Regions from separate parts of the Homo sapiens genome. Here region 2 is linked to region 1. Evidence: promoter capture Hi-C in 16 types of primary human blood cells and fetal thymus (Javierre and others, 2016). All regions are on one chromosome and are shown on one strand. Each heading gives the region's core, a stretch centred on a gene start or on the middle of the fragment in contact. The rest is flanking DNA. Distances are from core to core; before and after follow the strand shown.

The links. Contacts are between HindIII fragments. The CHiCAGO score rates a contact against its expected background, and 5 or more counts as called.
Region 2: a fragment that was not itself captured here is called in contact with the fragment with the promoter of SLC35E1 in region 1 in 1 of 17 cell types (fetal thymus); the score reaches 6.7 in fetal thymus.

The regions. Positions count from the first base shown.
Region 1 is chr19:16,570,495-16,573,820 of GRCh38, forward strand. It overlaps SLC35E1 (solute carrier family 35 member E1), which reads right to left and starts at 1,921. Exons shown (of 6, transcript NM_024881.5): 1 at 1,450-1,921; 2 at 1,018-1,088. The coding sequence starts at 1,870. LOC105372295 (a long non-coding RNA gene) reads left to right here and starts at 2,056. Exons shown (of 3, transcript XR_936360.3): 1 at 2,056-2,314. RefSeq lists silencers at 1,288-1,417, 1,578-1,687, 1,818-2,037 and enhancers at 1,956-2,830, 2,138-2,227. The HindIII fragment of the contact is 21,135 bases long and covers 1-2,908 here.
Region 2 is chr19:15,835,075-15,838,514 of GRCh38, forward strand. LOC124900418 (collagen alpha-1(I) chain-like) reads left to right here. Exons shown (of 3, transcript XM_047439793.1): 3 at 144-2,306. The coding sequence starts at 1,328. The coding sequence ends at 1,933. It overlaps UCA1 (urothelial cancer associated 1), which reads left to right. Exons shown (of 3, transcript NR_015379.3): 3 at 1-1,247. Among named protein-coding and RNA genes, the nearest start is that of UCA1, 7.8 kb to the left of the region's middle. RefSeq lists enhancers at 1-1,063, 1,844-2,073, 2,214-2,363 and a silencer at 1,494-1,713. The HindIII fragment of the contact is 1,368 bases long and covers 636-2,003 here.

The DNA.
Region 1 (3,326 bases), core at 671-3,170:
ACAACAAGCGCCCAACTTCCACTTAAGAATACGGGATAAAGCTGTCTCCGGCTAAAGCCATGGCTATTCTTGCCCCAAGCCAGGAAATACCCTGGCTTGGCATCTTGAACAGAATTTGGACTGTGCCCAAAGCATCCTCCTTATGCAGCCCTGAGTCCTGTGTGCCACTTTCGCTTCCGTTCCCAGACCATCACAACTTCTGGCTGTTTTAATTTCTAAGACTTTGCTGGATTTTGCCAAGATCGAACTCCTTGGATCGCGTCTGGCTTCTGATCCCAGAGGTCCCCTGACAGAAATCTCTTGTCAAGAAGTGAAAACCTAGCCAAGTGCAGTGGCTGACGCCTGTAATACCAGCACTTTGGGAGGCTGAGGCGGACGGATCACTTGAGGTCAGGAGTTTGAGACCAGCCTGGCAACATGGTGAAACCCTGTCTCTATTAAAAATACAAAAAAATTAGCCAGGTGTGGTAGTGCACGTCTGTAGTCCCAACTACTTGAGAGGCTGAGGCAGGAGAACTGCTTGAACCTGGGAGGCGGAGGTTGCAGTGAGCTGAGATTGTGTCACTGGACTTCAGGCTGGGCAAGAGTAAAACTCCGTCTCAAAAAAAAAAAAAAAAAAGTGAACACCTAACCGACAGCGTTCTGATCCATCCATCCCTAGTCCCACTGGAAAGGCCACACATGGGGTGTATGGCCAAGATGTGACCAACCCATCACCTACCAGCAAACCCAGGTAGGGAATCAAAACGGGGAGGAAAATTGGATCTGAAAGGGACAACAGTGTTCCTAAGACCACACAGCAGAGATCACAGAGGGACACATACTCCACACACCACTGCTCACAGGGTGATTCTAGAACTTGAGTAGTAAAAGGCCACTGGAGACCTCTACACTGACTTCCCTATTTGACGGGAAGCCAGGCAGCCTGCAGACCAGGATCCTGACCACGTCACCAGTTGGCAACAGGGAGGAACCCCCTGGAGCTCCCATCTGCCCAGAGTCCCTGCCCGGGGTTACCTTGGTGCTCTGCTTCTCCTTCATAATGATCCGGGACAGGAGGACCACCCAGATGGGCATGGTGGCCTTGACTGCAAAGAGAGGGATGGGCACTCAGGGGGCTGCCTGAATTTCAGGGCCCAACCTGTTCCACCTCCACGGCGGGATGGGAGGGCCTGGCAGCCCCTCACACCTCTTCGCCCCTTCTCTTTCGGTAGGGCTTCCTCCTGCCACGGCTGTTGTGGTCTGTCCTGCTTACCTCTCAGCTCTCTTCTCAGCTCCTCTTCTCCCTGAGAACCCCGTGCGTGTCCCTCCCCTACCAAACCCTTGGCAGCCCCTCTGCTGACTTCTCAGTCCGGCGGGACGCGCCCCGGGCGGCGCACTCCTATCCATGCGCCCAAACCCGAAGCGGCGGGCCCGGCCGCCGCCCCCGAGGCCGGGCGCGGAACCTACCGGTGTGTGCATAGGACACGGGCACCTTCCAGATGCTGACGTGCGCTGACACGGACGCGAAGTACTTGCCGAAGGCGAGCGGTAGCACGTAGCGCGGGTAGAAGCGCGGCGGCAGCAGCGGGCCGGACGACGGATGCGGACTGGGTCCGGGGCCCGAGACGGGCGGCGCGGGGGGCACGCGCCAGGCGCGCAGCAGCGGCGGGAGCCCAGCGCACAGAGCCAGGATGTGGCACAGCGACACGGTCACCGGGAACGGGAAGGCGCTCAGGATCACCTTGTTGACCACGTTGCCGCCCGCGCTCAGCGCGTACCACAGCAGGCACAGCGCCGCCACCCGCGCGCCCTCGCGCGCCCCACCACTGCTGCTCGCTGCGCCCGGGCCCCCCGCGCCGTGGCCCGCGCCCACCGCGGCCGCCGCCATCCTGCCCGAGCGGCCGCCCCTTCCAGCCCGTCCGACGGCCCGACGCCGGGCGGGGGCGGGGCTGGGCGGGGGGGCAGGCGCCCCGGTCTACGCCGTTTCCCATTGGTCGCTGCCTCCTCGCGTCATCCCTCCGCGCCGGCCGACGCGCCAGCCACCACGTCTCGAGTGCAGGCCCAGTCCACTGTAGATGCGCTTCCGGCGGAGCCGAGGCCGGAAGCGGAAGAAGGGGACACAGACCTGCGTCCAAGCTGTGCCACCTGAGACGTGGGCGGTCCCAGTGACCGGGAGCCGGAGCTCGAACGGGACGGGCGAACAGAAGCGCGGAGGGCTTCGCAGCGTCGGCGTCTGTGCGTGGGCCAAACATCAGGGCCTCGACCAGGGATACAAGGGCAACCGCTAACTAGATTCCTGATTCCTGATGGCTGGCGGCGGCTGACACCAAAGGTAAAAGGCCTTTTAGGGAAAGAAACCATTTGTGAAAAGCTCTTGGGCTAAACTCGCTCTGCAAACTGGGGGCGCACGCTCGTGGCCAAACTCTGGCAGTGGGACTATCCCGGAGCACCCGATCCCTGGAATCATGTTCTGGAAACCACCGCGACGTGCGCAGTTCTCGGGCGTGGCCCTGGTATCATCCCACTGAATCCTAGGAACGCGGTGCGGTAGGTATCACTGTCCGCATTTCACAGACCGAAGTCCAGAATGGGGAAGCGACTTGTCTTAGGCTTCCTGGCCACACTGGGGACCGTGGTCATGGTAGCGTCCTTGGACACCTGTCTCCAAGGCTCTGCAGAAGGGGGAGGTGCCGGGCCCTGACGGCTGATGTCCAAGGACCAGCCGGGATGGACCAGCCCCAGGAGGCCCCAGTGGAGGAAAACAGGACGAGGTTTTCAGTAAGATGATCTTATACTAATTCAAGGGCTATAATTTGTTCTCCACATCGTGTGCCTCCAACTTTTTCGGGGAAAGGGTGTTAAAATTCCGTTACAGTGTTTTTACTTGTCAAATTAGAAGCAGCAACCGGCTGGGTGCAGTGAGTCAAGCTTGGAATCCCAGCACTTTGGGAGGCCAAGGTGGGCGGATTGCTTGAGCTCAGGAGTTGGAGATCGTGGCATCGATAACATGGCAGAACCTCATCTTTGCAAAAAATACAAAAATTAGCCAGGCGTGGTGGCGCACGCCTGTGGTACCCACTACTAGGGAGACTGAGGTGGGTGGATCGGCTTGAGCCCAGGTCAAGGTTCCAGTGAGCTATGATGGCGCCACTGCACTGCAGCCTGGGTGACAGAGCGAGACCCAGTCTCAAAGAAAAGTAGAAAGCAGCAACCCAACTTGGCTCCCCAAATGTTGGAAGGTATCTTAGCTTATCCTTGCATTCTCAAAGGCCCTAGGCCCTTCTGGATACATGGACACAGGCATGGTAGTCCCTGCAGGCAGGGGTAGTGGGGAGCTGCAACCT
Region 2 (3,440 bases), core at 70-2,569, 740 kb before region 1:
ACATATTTGGCAACCAGACCAGCATCCAGGACAACACAAAGTATGTTGTTTGTTGTTAGAGGGCTTGGGACATTTCACTCTTTGCCAGCCTCAGCTTAATCCAGGAGACAAAGATTATTTTCCTTATTATCTCTTCTGCATAGGATCTGCAATCAGAACTATTGAACTTCTCCATTCAGACCGCCACTCACACCTATGGGAAAAGGGTAATGTATCATCGGCTTAGCAACAGGGAATACTATTCGTATGATGGAAAATGGGGACAAAAGGCTTTGGTACATAAAACATTATTCCTTCCTTGGCCTAAAAACTCATCGCCACCTACATTAAAGCTAATATGCCTGATTACTGTTTTTAGAGAACTTATTTTATTAGGGCAGTTCCAAGCTCAAAAATACGCTAACTGGCACCTTGTTAGCTACATAAAAATGCACCCTAGACCCGAAACTTACTAGACTCATTATAAAATTTTCTTTAAGGTGTCCACGCAGTCCCTGGTCACACTTGAAGCAGTCCGGAGAAATATCAGCCCTACCCCAGTAATCCCCAGAAGGAACTTACACTTTTTTTTAATCTTTTCCTACAACTTCATATTTTATAAATAAAAAGACAAAAATGTCAGGCCTGTGAGCTGAAGCTTAGCCATTGTAACCCCTGTGACCTGCACATATCCGTCCAGGTGGCCTGCAGGAGCCAAGAAGTCTGGAGCAGCCGAAAAACCACAAAGAAGTGAAACAGCCAGTTCCTGCCTTAACTAATTAACCCACCTTACGACATTCCACCATTATGACTTGTCCACCATTATGACTTGTTCCTGCCCTGCCCCAACTGATCAATCAACCCTGTGACATTCTTCTCCTGGACAATGAGTCCCATCATCTCTCCACCATGCACCTTGTGACCCCCTCCTCTGCTGAGGATAACCACCTTTAACTGTAACTTTCCACGCCTACCCAAGCCCTATAAAGCTGCCCCTCTCCTATCTCCCTTCACTGACTCTCTTTTCGGACTCAGCCCACTTGCACCCAAGTGAATTAACAGCCTTGTTGCTCACACAAAGCCTGATTGGGTGTCTTCTATACGGACACGCGTGACAGGAACCTCAACCCAAAGGCAGTCTGATGAGGTGTCTAAGATAAAAGTAGCGGCACAAAGGCTTTTGTAAACAGAGGCGTTTCATGTGGTTTTCCTTTCCTTTCCTTATATGTGAAAAGGTGACAGAAAAGAAATCTTCCTAAAAGAGTCAGCCACTGCTCTGTGGAACGATGATCATTTAAATGCCACGTCGATTTGAAACGTACAACAAAGGGACTAACAGTTGAGAACCATGTGGATTGCAGTGGAGACGCTGGCGTTAGAGAATGCGGGGAGGGAAACGTTCATTACAAGATTTACGGCCAGCCCAAGGGGGAGCGAGGCTGGGGGACCGGGTCGCGGAGACCCGGCTTCGCACACCTTTTGGAAGACTCAGGGAGAAGCGGGGGCCGCCTTCGGGGGGAAAGGCGGGACTGGGGAGCCCACAGGCCATGGCTCCTCCCACAGGATCCCCAGGCCGGAGGCGGGATCCCCCCATGATCCTCCCGTGGCCCCCGCACAATCTGGGGAGATGCGGAGCTGCCCAGAGAGGGCTCTGGGGCGACAGTCACTGCGCAGGGACAGGACAGGACTCCCGGAGTCCCAGCTGCCGGCCCAGCCCCACCCTGCGGCCGAGAGGACCGAGGGCCGAGCTGCTCCAGGGGAACTCGGGTCCCAGACCCCGGAGTCGCAGCGGACAGGCCCGGGTCCCGCCACAGCCAGATCCGGCTGGTTCCACCAGCTCCTCCTCCGGTCTCGGGACGTCCGGCCCCGCACACTCAGCATTTCCGGCTTCCGGGTGTCCCGGCGTCCTCCCCTGGGCCTGCTCACGTCGCAGAGGGGCGGCGACGGGGATTAGAGGGGAGGAGGGCCTGCGCGAGCAGCAAAGACCCCAAACCCCAAAAAACAAAGAAACCGCCAGAAACTGAAGCTTCCACAGCCCGCCACGTCCCCCGGCTACGGCTACGCTCCTGATTGGATAGTTAGTACGGCCCCTAGTGCCCCTGATTGGATACCGCTTCAGGTCCCGCCCCCTGGGGTTAGAAAGACAGGAGACCCGAGAAGACACTTGGCTGCGTGGAGCCCAAATGGGCGGTTCCTGGCAACTGGGCTTGTTGTCTTCCTCGTGTCAGGATGTAAAAAGAAAAGTAGAGGTTCTTCTTCAAAGACTTCCTTCTTCATCTAATTAAGAATAAATAGTGTTTGAAATGCTTGGTTTTTGGTGCCATAAAGAAATAGCACTTTAACATTAATTTATTTAGCAAGGCCATTTTTACTCCCTGCAGAAAGGGTACACTCGCCAGCAGTTTTGCCACGAGCGTACACCGAGCAAAGGAGACAGGGTCATTTATAACCTGAGGTGTCCACCCTACTGCTGTGTCCAGTTTCCATTGGCTGGAACGGGACCTCACATTCTGTGTTTGTCCTGATTGGCTAGCAACTTAGAACGTTTTAAAAGAGGCAAAGGTGGAGGAGAACAAAGGAAGAAGGAAGTAACTTGTGGAATGCTGAGAAAGGTAAAAACACCTTCAAATAAGGAAGAGGAAGAGGCTATGACTTAATGCTTGCTTGGACCAGTATAAGCATACCAGGGCAAATATTTGGGCTAAATTGTGGGAGCTAAGAACATAAAGTATATTGATTTCTTTATTATGGCTAGCAGATATTTAAGAATGTTAGCACAGGTCTTTGAATAAATTTTGCTTTTAAGAGAAGTTACTATTTATTCCTAATCGAATGGGAAGGAAAATTTTTGAAGAGGAACCTCTACTTTACTTTTTACAAACAATAACTTGTTTTAGAAGCAACATTTATTTAAAGACTTGTACTAATATTCTTAAATATTTGCTAGCTGTAATAAAGAAATCAATGTACTTTATGTTCCTAGCTTTTACATTTTAGCTTAAATATTTGCTTTGGCATGCTTATACTAGTCTAACCAAGTATTAGGTCGTAGCTTGTTCTTTATTTGAAGGTGTTTTTACTTTTCTTAGCGTTCTACAAGTTACTTCTTTCTTTTGTTTTCTTCTGCTTTTGCCTTTTTAAAAAAAGTTCTAAGTTGCTAGCTGATTGGGATAAATACAGAGTGTGAGGTCTTGTTCCAGCTAATGGTAACTGGACACAGCAGTAGGGTAGACGCGTCAAGTTGTAAATGACCTTGTCTCTTTTGTTCAGTGTACTCTCGTGGCAAAAACTGCTAGCAAGTGTATCTTTTCTGCGGAAAGTAAGAAACTGGCCTTGCTGAAGAAATTAAATTCATGTTCAAGTGCTATTCTTTACAGCGCCCGAGAACAAGCATTTCAAACAAGGACCTCTGGGGATTGGGGGTGGGGGTGGGGTGACATTTGCAAGTGGACACTGGCATT